2 separate regions of the Homo sapiens genome follow, and region 1 is linked to region 2. Evidence: promoter capture Hi-C in 16 types of primary human blood cells and fetal thymus (Javierre and others, 2016). All regions are on one chromosome and are shown on one strand. Each heading gives the region's core, a stretch centred on a gene start or on the middle of the fragment in contact. The rest is flanking DNA. Distances are from core to core; before and after follow the strand shown.

The links. Contacts are between HindIII fragments. The CHiCAGO score rates a contact against its expected background, and 5 or more counts as called.
Region 1: a contact is called between a fragment that was not itself captured here and the fragment with the promoter of SLC28A2 in region 2, in 1 of 17 cell types (M2 macrophages). The highest score is 5.0, in M2 macrophages.

Annotation. Positions count from the first base shown.
Region 1 is chr15:45,202,956-45,208,866 of GRCh38, reverse strand. No RefSeq gene overlaps it. Among named protein-coding and RNA genes, the nearest start is that of TRH-GTG1-9, 4.8 kb to the right of the region's middle. The HindIII fragment of the contact is 1,103 bases long and covers 2,914-4,016 here.
Region 2 is chr15:45,250,984-45,256,403 of GRCh38, reverse strand. SLC28A2 (solute carrier family 28 member 2) reads right to left here and starts at 4,170. Exons shown (of 18, transcript NM_004212.4): 1 at 4,126-4,170; 2 at 3,108-3,204; 3 at 2,884-2,972. The coding sequence starts at 3,188. SLC28A2-AS1 (SLC28A2 antisense RNA 1) reads left to right here. Exons shown (of 5, transcript NR_120335.1): 2 at 406-452; 3 at 1,037-1,074; 4 at 2,470-2,538; 5 at 4,332-4,823. The HindIII fragment of the contact is 6,298 bases long and covers 1-5,368 here.

The DNA.
Region 1 (5,911 bases), core at 2,216-4,715, 47 kb after region 2:
ACCATCATGTCAAATGCTCAATGCTAACAATATCAGTATAACATGGATACGTCTCTTTTCATGCTGTTTTGGCTACCCTGACTCTAGAAAACATTATACACTTGATATTAGATCTTCCTCTTTTGATCTGAGAGACCAAAATGGATGCACCATTATCAAGTAAGACAGACTCAAAGCTTAAGGAAAGTAACTTACCTATGGGTCCAAGGTGCCGGCTGGCATAGCAAATTGCTAAATTCCTATGGCTAAGGTCTCTAATAATAGGAGCTATGAGCTCTGATTTACAACCCAGACCCCAAGTCTGATTAGACAGAGGACCAGCCTTACAAATATTCTTTTCTCAGAAGCTATTGCAGACCTTAAGCCAGTTTCAGACAGCTTATAGAGGCTGTGCACAAATTGCCTTGGTGTCCTATAGTTCATCTTTTGATGTGGAGCCAATTCCACCTCATTTCAATGCCAAAATCCTACCCCAAAGTGAACGTGGCATGTATGTTACATACATGTTTACCCATTGCCCATACATAGAGTTCCCTCATAAATATGTATAGCTTTTCCCCAAATCTGCTGAATGTGTATGACACAAGCTCTGTGAAGCATAAAACCCAACGTGTCCTTCCCCTCCTTGAAGAAAGAGCAGGCCAGGTGAGGTGGCTCACACCTGTAATCCCAGCCCACTGGGAGGCCGAGGTGGGTGGATCACTTGAGCACAGGAGTTCAAGACCAGACTGGGCAACATGGTGAAACCCTGTCTCTACAAAAAATACAAAAATTAGTTGAGTGTGGTGGTGTGTGCATGTGGTCCCAGCTACTTGGGAGGCTGTGATGGGAGGATGGCTTGAGACCAGGAATTCAAGGCTGCAGTGAGCTATGATCACACCACTGCACTCCAGCCTGGGTGACAGAATGAAATACTGTCTCAAAAAAAAAAAAAAAAAAAAAGAAGAAGAAGAAGAAAGAGCACCATTGGTCCACGTTGGAGACTTTCTCTTCCCAGCTGCAAACTGATATCACCAATATAGCTCTCCTTTCTACCATCTAGCCATCTTGGTGATCTTCTGGATGACACACTCAAGCCTCATATCCATTTTTTTTTATCCAACATGTTCATCCCCTCTACCTCCATGCTAAAGAGAAAACATCTATAGGTGTGATTTGAGGGAAGAGTCCCTCGTTCATCCCTAGATGAGTATTAGTCCCCGAGCTCCAACATCAACTACTAGTCCAGGGAGCAGAAATTCTCTTCTGTCTCTCCTGAATGAAGACTTTTATCAGGATATAATTATCCATTTACACCTAACCTTTCTAAAACACAGATATGACTATGTCTCTCTTCTGCTTAAAAATGGGAACTTAAATGCCCCTCTCCCCTCAATGCCTGACACAAAGCCTATGGACAGCCTTCAGGAAATTTGTGAATTCCTGATATTTTATCATAGGTGTATTACTTTGGAGAACAAGGCTGTGGCTGTCAATGGATCCCCAAAGCAATGTTACCACAAAATGTGAAGAAACACCAGCCTCCAGGAAAAAGGCCTGACTCAAGTAAGAGATTCATCAAAATTTGGCTCCAGCCTCTCACCCTCCACTCTCTCCTCCATATCTTTGTTGTTTCTTTGTTTGTTTGTTTTAGGGGGAATTACAGGCATGTGCCATTGCACCCATCTAATTTTTGTATTTTTAGTAGAGATGGGGTTTCACCATGTTGGCCAGGCTAGTCTCGAACTCCTGGCCTCAAGTGATCCGCCCTCCCCGGCCTCCCTCCCCTCCATATCTAATGTTGTAGCTACAACTTGTCTTTTCCTATGCTATCTGTGCATCATACTTCCTTGCTTTTACTTATGCCTTTCTCTTTGCCTAGAATACCCTTTCCTTTTTATCTTTTTTGAGACAGAGTCTCATTCTCTCACCCAGGCTGGAGTGCAGTGGAGCAATCTCGGCTCACTACAACCTCCGCCTCTCAGCCTTAAGTGATTCTCCTGCCTCAGCCTCCCAAGTAGAATATCCTTTCCCTTTCTTTTCCAGGAAAAGTACTATGCATGCCTTGGAACTCAGATCAAATGTTGTATCCTGGTAGAATCAACGATCTAAGCTCCAACACACTTTGTATATATGTCTGGCATAGTTCTAATTAGTTCTTCACTCATCTGATTAACCCCGAACTAAAATGATCTCAGAGTAAGAATGGGTCTTATTTAATTCATATCTCCAAGGCCTAGCACAGATCATACTAGGCACTACTGGTTATTGGGCAGGAGGATAGGTGTCAGCATGGACCATTGCCCAACAGAACAGGAACACATCTCCCTCTGAGCATGCCTCCTCAGACCCCCTACTCACCCAGGACCATTTCTGCTCAGCCTGATGCTTTGGCTCTCTGAACTCTGTAGTGAGCTTTGTATTTGCAGATTTTTCTGACCAGTAACTCAAAACTAATTTTGGAGACCAACATTGCCAATTTAAAACGTTTCCAAGAAAAGATGTTTTTTAAAACCTATCACTGGCTGGGTACAGTGGCTCATGCCTGTAATCTCAACACTTTGGGAGGCCGAGGCAGGTGGATTACCTGAGGTCAGGAGTTCAAGACTAACCTGGCCAACAAGGTGAAACCCCGTCCCTACTAAAAATACAAAAATGAGCTGGGTGTGGCGGCACATGCCTGTAATCCCAGCTACTCAGGAGGCTGAGGCAGGAGAATCGCTTGAACCTGGGAGGCAGAGGTTGCAGTGAGCCAAGAGCAAGACTCCGTCTAAAAAACAAACAAACAAAAACAAAAACAAACAAAAAAACACCTATCACCTACTTTCTCCATAGTTTTATAAAAGTCACTTTAATACCTCAAAAATAAAAAGGTCATTGTCTCAGCCTAGAGGACAGTCCTTTGGATTAAATGCATTTAGCATTTTAAAAGCTTACCACATTGACCTCATTTTTTCATTCAGTGGTGAAAAGTTTGTCCTAGTTTATCAGTTCTAAAAAGTTTGGAAACCACTGATTTAGACCTTTGCTTCTGCAAGGCAGCTCCTGCATTCTTCCTGACTCAGGAATTAGTTTCAGGTCTCATGCCAGGAATAAAGTCCTGCACCATCTTTCCCTACAGTTTCTTTTTGTGGATATGGAGAGAAGTACCTAGAAACAAGAGACCGACTACAGCATATTGAACAGTCTATGCTGGTCACTTGACTTTGGATGAGGGGCAAATCTCAGTTGACAAACTCAGCTCAAAAATAAACTACTCTAGGCAAGAAGTATCTTATACAGCTTTGCAGCCCCCAATGACTTAAGAACTAAGAGATGCTAGTTTATGGGAAGAATGAAGAATGAATGAATGAATGAATGAGTGGATGGATGGATGGATGGATGGATGGATGGATGGATGGATGAATGGATAGATAAGTAGATGGATGAAATCTGAGTCCTCATTACCCAGAGAATCCCTGTGGAACAGGCTCAGTTAAGTCAGAAGTGGTATGTTGCAAATTAAATGAGTCTTTTCCAGCCTCAGCTTTTCACTACTACTTCCTGGGGCACAGCGCCTTCTAGTGGAAATCCAGATGTGCTGCCTCCTCCCTAGACGGCCCTAAACATGGGCCCTTTGATGACTCCCTCCCAGATCACCATCTCCTCACTGTGAAAACCTCAATGACATCCCCATTGATGAGGCTCAGTAGATTCAGGCAGGTCCCTTCTAGTAACCCAAGTACTCACAAGATGAACAATGAAGGATTCCATTAGAGCTTTAGGCTAGAGCAGCACTTCTCAAACTTTCCTGTGCAGATGAATCACTTGGAGAGGACCTTGTGGAAAACCGAAGATTTTCACTGGGTAATTCTGAGTTGTGGATCAAGATTCTGAATTTTGGACAAGCCTTCCAGGACCAGAGCCTGCTGGTCCAGTGGCAGCTGCTCAACACTGCGCCCCTGTGGGGGTTGGCAGCTCCCAGATATACGAGGTATAACCAGGGAGTATAACCAGGAAGCTGTGGGGTTGATGGTTTAAGCAGACAATCTGAAGCTTATAAATTACTGTTGTCCCTTTCAAGGTTTGCCCTTTGAAGTCTACACACTCCTACCAAAAAAAAAAAATTGTTTTTCTTTTGCTGGAATGTTATTTATAAAACATTTCTGGCATTGTCATTGAAATTTTTGTGCCTTAAAAGACTCAGTGGTGACATTTTTCTCTTTGAAGGTAGCTTTAAAAGCAGTCAAAAGTTATTTCAAAATAGAATGTGATTATAAATATTGAGGTGGATGTACTCATATGGCTTATAAATTAGCCCTGAAAATAATCTCCAAATAAGAATTCCAAAAATATTTTGGGCAGCTGTTTGGAGAAAGTGGAATGCCTGATTTGAAACACAATACTCATTTGGATGTTTATGTTCCAGGGTGTTCATTTTTAAGGAGTTGATTTCATTATGTTATATTCCCATCTACTATATTATTTAAGTAAAACTTCAGTAGGGCTTTGTAAGTGCCAGGCACTATTGCTTTACAAATATTCATTCATTTAATCTTCATAACAATCCTTTTACAGATGAGAAGTCATTCTACAATCATTTTACAGGTGAGAAAACTGAGGCATGGAGACATGTTGCTTCCCCAGGGTCACCTAGTTAGTAAATGGATGAGTTGAGATTCAAATCTTAAACAGCCTACTTTCAGGTGTCAGAGGCTTCATTACTAAGCTATGCTAGCTCCCCCAACAGAGACGAGGTCTCATTATACTGTCTAGTCTGGTCTTGAACTCCTGGGCTCAAGCAATCCTCCCACCTTAGTCTCCCAAAGTGCTGGGATTACAGGCGTGAGCCACCATCCCCAACTTATGCTACCCCTTAATTAGAGTTAGGACTAGTCTAGTACTATCAACTACTGTACCTCAGGGTCTATCAGATGGAAGGGAAAAAAATTCAAAGTGACTTAGAGGTTGGAAACCTGCAGAAATTAACAAATCCAACCAAGATGGGAACAACTGGAGCTGGAATGTGTGAACAGGGTGCTCTTAAGTATAAGCACCCTACCTCTTTCCTGGCACTGAGACCTAGAGAAGAGTTCCAACCTCAAGCTGGAAGTGATAGGAGGAAATATTACATTCCCAGAATCAGAAATCATAAAACAATTTTAAAAGCAAGGGACCAACAGGAAGGGGGTGCTGACTGATTGCTCAGAGAGGGTGTCCCAGGGCAGCGGGGTCTTGATGAGGTCATTCCAGGCCAGGGTCTCCAGGAGCAGGGCTTTGCCAGCCCTGACATTCCATTTTGTCAGTGTACCTAGAGATAAGTAGGCACAAGGGAAATGAATTATGCTAACCAGACTCTTATGAGTCTAAACCAAAACACCCACAGTTAGGAGAACAGTGCCAATAAGCTTGTTCAAAGCATGCTTTTTCCTGTAGGGAAGTCTAATGGGCAAATCATTATCAAAGTCTGTTTTGTAAGGAAAATTGACTGAGTGACCTCAGAAGAGGATGTTATGAAATGTTGAGAGCTGGATGCGCCCATCTCATGGACTACCGTGTAGCTGCCAAAAAGGCAGCCCTCCCCTCGTGTCACTCTTCCTGCAACTAGGTCACAATACAACACTTTCAGTTCAGCTTTCTTTAGCATTCCTGACCTCAGACATGGATGGCTAGTGGGTTATCTCAGATGGTGAATGTTTGTGATTTTTGTTTTATTGGTTGACGCTTTTTTTTTTTTTTGAGACAGGGTCTTGTTCTGTTGCCCAGGCTGGAGTTCAGTGGCATGATCACGGCTCACTGCAATCTCCCCCTCCCAGGCTCAAGCAATTCTCCCACTTCAGCCTCCTGAATAGCTGGGACTACAGGTACACACCGCCACACCTGGCTAATTTTTGTATTTTTTATAGAGAGAGCTTCTCACCATGTTGTCTAGGCTGGTCTCAAACCCCGGAGC
Region 2 (5,420 bases), core at 2,921-5,420:
GAAATATGGAAAGTAAGGCAAATGGAGGAAAATGTGTAGCTTTACAAAAATTTAAAGAAATGCAAGTTAAGGTCAGGCACATGGCTCACACCTGTAATCTCAGCACTTTGGGAGGCTGAGACATGAGGATTGTTTGGGCCCAGCAATTCAAGACCAGCCTGGGTAATGAAGTAAGACCTCATTTCTCAAAAAATAAAAATAAATGCAAGTTAGAACTTTAAGGCATGATTTTATATCTATGTAACTAGTTAACATGGTTTATATGAGAAAATATAAGGTCGATAAGACTTGAAGGGAACTGGACATGTTATATATCAGAGCAGTTTAAGGTGCCAACAACAGTCTGGCAAAAAAAAATTACCAAGATCCTTTCAGCTAAGTACTAATATTATTCTTGTTTTACAGGGTGAAAACTGAGGTTTAGAGAGGGTAAATAACTTGCCCAAAATCTGGTAAGTGCTAGAGTCAGTGGTGCAGGGGAAGCTGGCCTGCGCTGGCTTGAGAGAAGTGATTGTTACATTTTCAGGAATTGTGCAAGCCATTACTAAAAATTAAAACTATATAAACGTATAATTAAATTACATTAAAGACAAAGGTAATAAATACTAAAAACTCATCATTTTCTAATTATTTTGCTACATTTTTCTGTCATGTGAGCTCATGAAGTTATTCATGTCTGCTGTATGTGTATGGTGGAAATTTTATATAATGATACATCTCTTCCCAACTCCTTGTTCAAGTAACCCTTTGGTTACTTGAAATCAGCCATGTTGAGAGTTTTTACGTTACAGGCGAATACTGTAAATAAGGTCTTAATTTATTATTTCATCTAGACTAAAGATTAGCAAGCTGTGGTCTGTGGGCCAAGTTCATCTCACCTTCTTTTTAAAAATTAAGTTTTATCAAAACACAGCCATGCTCATTTGTTTAGTATCACCTGTGGCTGCTTTCCTACGAAAATGGTAGAGTTTAATAATTGCAACAGAGACCACATCAACCACAAAACCAATAATATTTACTACCTTATCTTTTACAGGAAAAGTTTGCCAACCCCTGGTCTTACTCCTCATTAAGGTGAGCAAAAATATTAACCAACATTCATTGCAAAACTACATGTGGACAGCCGGTTCTTTCTTCTTTTTTTTTTTTCAAGACGGTCTCACTCTGTCCCCTAGGCTGGAGTACAGTGGCACGATCATGGCTCACTGCAGCCTTAACCTCCTGGGCTCAAGTGATCCTCCCACCTCGGCCTCCTGGAATAGCTGGGACTACAGGCACGCACCACCATGCCCTGCTAATTTTTAAAAATTTTTGTAGAGGCAGGTCTCACTATGTTGCTCAGGCTGGTCTTGAATTCCTGGGCTCAAGTGATCCTCTCACCTCAGCCTCACGAAGTGCTGGGATTACAGGCATGAGCCACTAGCCCGGTGGAGAGTCAATTCTTAAACATTTACTAGCATACCACTGTTCAAATATAGACACAAGCAATGTGACTCACATGATTAACGGCCACACTGCTAAGTAAAATATGAAATATCATGTAAGCATGAAAAACTTACAAAGAATTTACTGTCAATTCAGTATATATAAAACATGATAATATAAAAATTTTTAGAGAGAAGCAAATTGTGAATAAAACAATTAAAAATTTTAAGAAGTCACTGAGGTAACTTTCAAAAATAAAGAGAAGAAAATATAAAAATAACCTTTTGTTTGGAAGCTGCTCTGAATCATCTCCATATATAGTCATGTGTTACTTAACAACAGGGATACATTCTGATAAATTCAACATTAGTCAATTTCATAATTATGCTAACATCTTACAGTGTACTTATGCAAACCTAGATGGTATAGCTTACGACACATCCAAGCTATATGGTGGATCCTATTATTCTTAGGCTGCAAATCTGTTCAGCATGTTTCTGTACTTAATACTGTAGGCAACTATAGCACAATGGTAAGTATTTGTGTATCTAAACATATCTAAACATAGAAAAGGCACAGTAAAAATACAGTATTATAATTTTATGGGACCACCGTTGTGTAATGATATACACCGTTGATATACATGATTATACACCATTGTATAATGCGGTCCATCATTGACTGAAACATCATTATGTAGCTCATGACCGTATTCCCTTTAGAAGCTATCCAATGTCCTCTTCTCAGCTTTTAGTGTATGACTTCTGCACTCTTTTATAAATACCCACTGTTTTCCAGACCATGGAACATTGCTTCTTTCCATATGATCTATTTTACTCAAACAATTTTCTTTGACATTACTTCTGGGACCAGATCCACAAACAAATTCAAAGATTTTTCTCACTCCTCCTTCCTAGACCCCTGTTCACATAGCACTGTGGACTGTACCTTCTTCATTCTTGAGACTCTTCTCTTTTGACTTCTAAGATCTTTTTTACTGTCTTTATTATCCTTATAATAAGTCCTTCTGTGTTTTCTCCCCAGGTTTCCCTTCCTCTCCACCATTCCCAAATCTGAGTATTCCAGAAGAGCTACTGTTTTTTTAATGATATGGTAAATTAATTTCTAAAGGGATTAAAATGAATACCTACCTGTTGTAATGAAAATAAATGTATAACATAAAGCAATCTGCAAAATAGTAAGTATACACTCAAAATCTGTTAGCCATTATTACCATTGTTATTATTTTTATTTTCAGTCCAACCAACACTGATACTGCTGAACTCCTTTTTTTTTATGGAGTTTATGGCACATGTTTAAGTTAATTAATTATGTAAGATACATATATATATGTACACATGGTAAGGTGGAGCGGTTGTGATAATACCACAAGCTGCCTGAAGGGGCAGCCCACCCTAGATCCTTTCCTAACTGAACAAGATTCCAAAACACCAGTACCTCTGGTAAGTGGAAGGGCCCAGTCCATCCCCCAGGCTGTGTCCTTGTGCGTCAGTCCTCTTGCTTCCCTCAGGCTCTACTTCTTTTTCCTACAAGCACAGAGAGCATTGGGATCAGTCATGGAGCCCTGCCAGGGATGATGGGGATTGAGAGCAGCCAAATACCCTACAGGAGCCCATGCAGCAGCCCACAGCTCTGCAGAGAGAAACTAAACTGGTGATTACCATGAGCTCCAGCCCCGGGTTCACTGTGCCAGTCTCCACTGTGGACAGAGCAATGGACTGTCTTCCACTTGCTTTCTCCATCTCCTGTTCTCCTCAACTGAAAAACAAATTCAGGGCCAAGCCTGAAAGATTGGTCATTCTGTTCTGTGGGGATGGGGAGAATTTTTAGGACCAGTTACCCATGGAAAACGCAAAACTAAAAGTCTTTGAAGGCTTAGTTGATTTCTTTAAGAACTGAGAATTGAGAAGATTGGATGTGTAATTTTTATATAATAAATAATGAAAAATAAAATCCTATTTCCTCTTGTGAATAGCTAAAGAAGAGGCAGTAAGATAGGAGAAGAGAAATGAAAGGCAGTGGAATTGAAATGAATCAGTGGGCCGCCCAGGGCCCCAGGATCTGGGCTATAAAGGTTCCTACTTGGACCCTCAAAGAAAGAGTCACAGGGTAACTACTCCTTTTAGCCCCAGGGAGGCCCCACTGAGCTTGCTGAGTAAGAAGGAAACAGGGAGGAAGGCAGTTGGGAAGACCCGGACCCTAAAGTATTGCTGAACAGATAACAATTTACAGGCCTTCAAATTCCTGACTATAATGTAGCATAAGAATTGGTTTTTTATGCCCCAGAGAGAACTCATCAGTGAAATTAACAAAACTTACATTTAAAATAATTAGTATGAATGTTAATGATCCCAAGTAAAGTTTTTAAACAAAATAAGCAAACATTTGGGCCTCAGAATAAGCAAATTTAATACATGGACATTCACAATTAGAATATAAGTTCATTCTGAGATATTTATTTACTTTGCAGAAAATTCCCTTCCCCATGGAATTGCTTTTGAAAATGTGATCTCTTCAAGCATTTGAAGTATAATTTCATTAAACACACATAACCAACTTATATTGTGTAAATTAGGGCCTTCCTGACTAGGCACAAAACTACCTGCATTTAGTTTAAATATGATCTCTTTAAAAATTTGTAAATTAGGCACCTGCCCTCCCCCAAACACCTTTACTTACCCCAGCTTGTGGAATTGATTCCCTCTGGCTCCTCAGTGAAGGACTGAAAGAAAAGCTCAGCTGCGAGGGAGGAGGGGCAGCTTGGGTGGGGCATGGGGGCTTTCCTGCCATTGGTTAGTTTTATGTCTTGGGCCCTCCTTCGCTGAGCCTGCCCTCAATGTAGAGGAGGACTGCACCTCTCAAGTTAAATATTATATGTTTTTAAGACTGTTTTGCAGGCCTAAGACTTATGCAGAGGTGGCGCCCGCCCGTAATCCCAGCACTTCGGGAGGCCGAGACGGGCGGATCGCTTGAGACCAGCCAGGATAACATGGCGAAACCACATCTCTACAACAAATACAAAAATTAGCTGGGCGCGGTGGCACACGACTGTGGTTCCAGTTACTCGGCAGGCGGAGGTGGAAGGATCCCTTGAGCCTCTGGAGGTGGAGGTTGCAGTGAGCTGTGATTGCGCCACTGCACTCCAGCCTGGGCGACAGAGTGAGACCCTGTCAGAAAACAAAACAAAACAAAAGAATTCTGTAAGAACTTCTAACAGGTACATTCCTGTAAGCATTACCCACCACTGGACTAGGCACTGGGTAGCCTGTAAAATACAGTAAGAGCCGTCTCTGCACCCAGAAAATTTACCATCATTTTGTGCTGGAAAGACATGCCCTAGAAAACAATAAACAGCACGACTGTACATGATTCCATGCCAAATGACTGCTAGGAATTATTTTATTAATCCATTCAACAAATACTTATTGAGTAACCACTATTAGCCAGCCACCGTTTTCCGTGTGAGGACATAAAAATGAGTGAGACAAGGTCTCTGCCATCAAAAAACGAACAGATCAGTGAGGAAAGACGGATGTGTCAAGAAAGGCTTTGCAGGTCGAGCGCGGTGAATCACGCTTGTAATCCCAGCACACTGGGAGGCAGAGGCAGGCGGATCATTTGAGGTCAGGCGCTCGAGACCACCCTGGCCAACATGGCGAAACTCCATCTCTACTAAAAATACAAAAATTATCCGGGCATGGTGGTGCAGGCTTGTAATCTCAGCTACTCAGGAGGCTGAGGCAGGAGAATCATTTGAACCCAGGAGGCAGAGGTTGCAGTGAGCCATGATCATGCCACTGCACTCCAGCCTGGGTGAGCGAGACTCCATCTCAAAAAAAAAAAAAAAAAAAAAAAAGAGGGAGAGAAAGACTTTACAGAGCTGGTAACACTTATCCTGGCCTGGAAAGAAAGAAAGAAAGCTTCCTATGACGCCCTCTGGATAAAACTTAGGACCCCTCCCTGCACTCTGATTG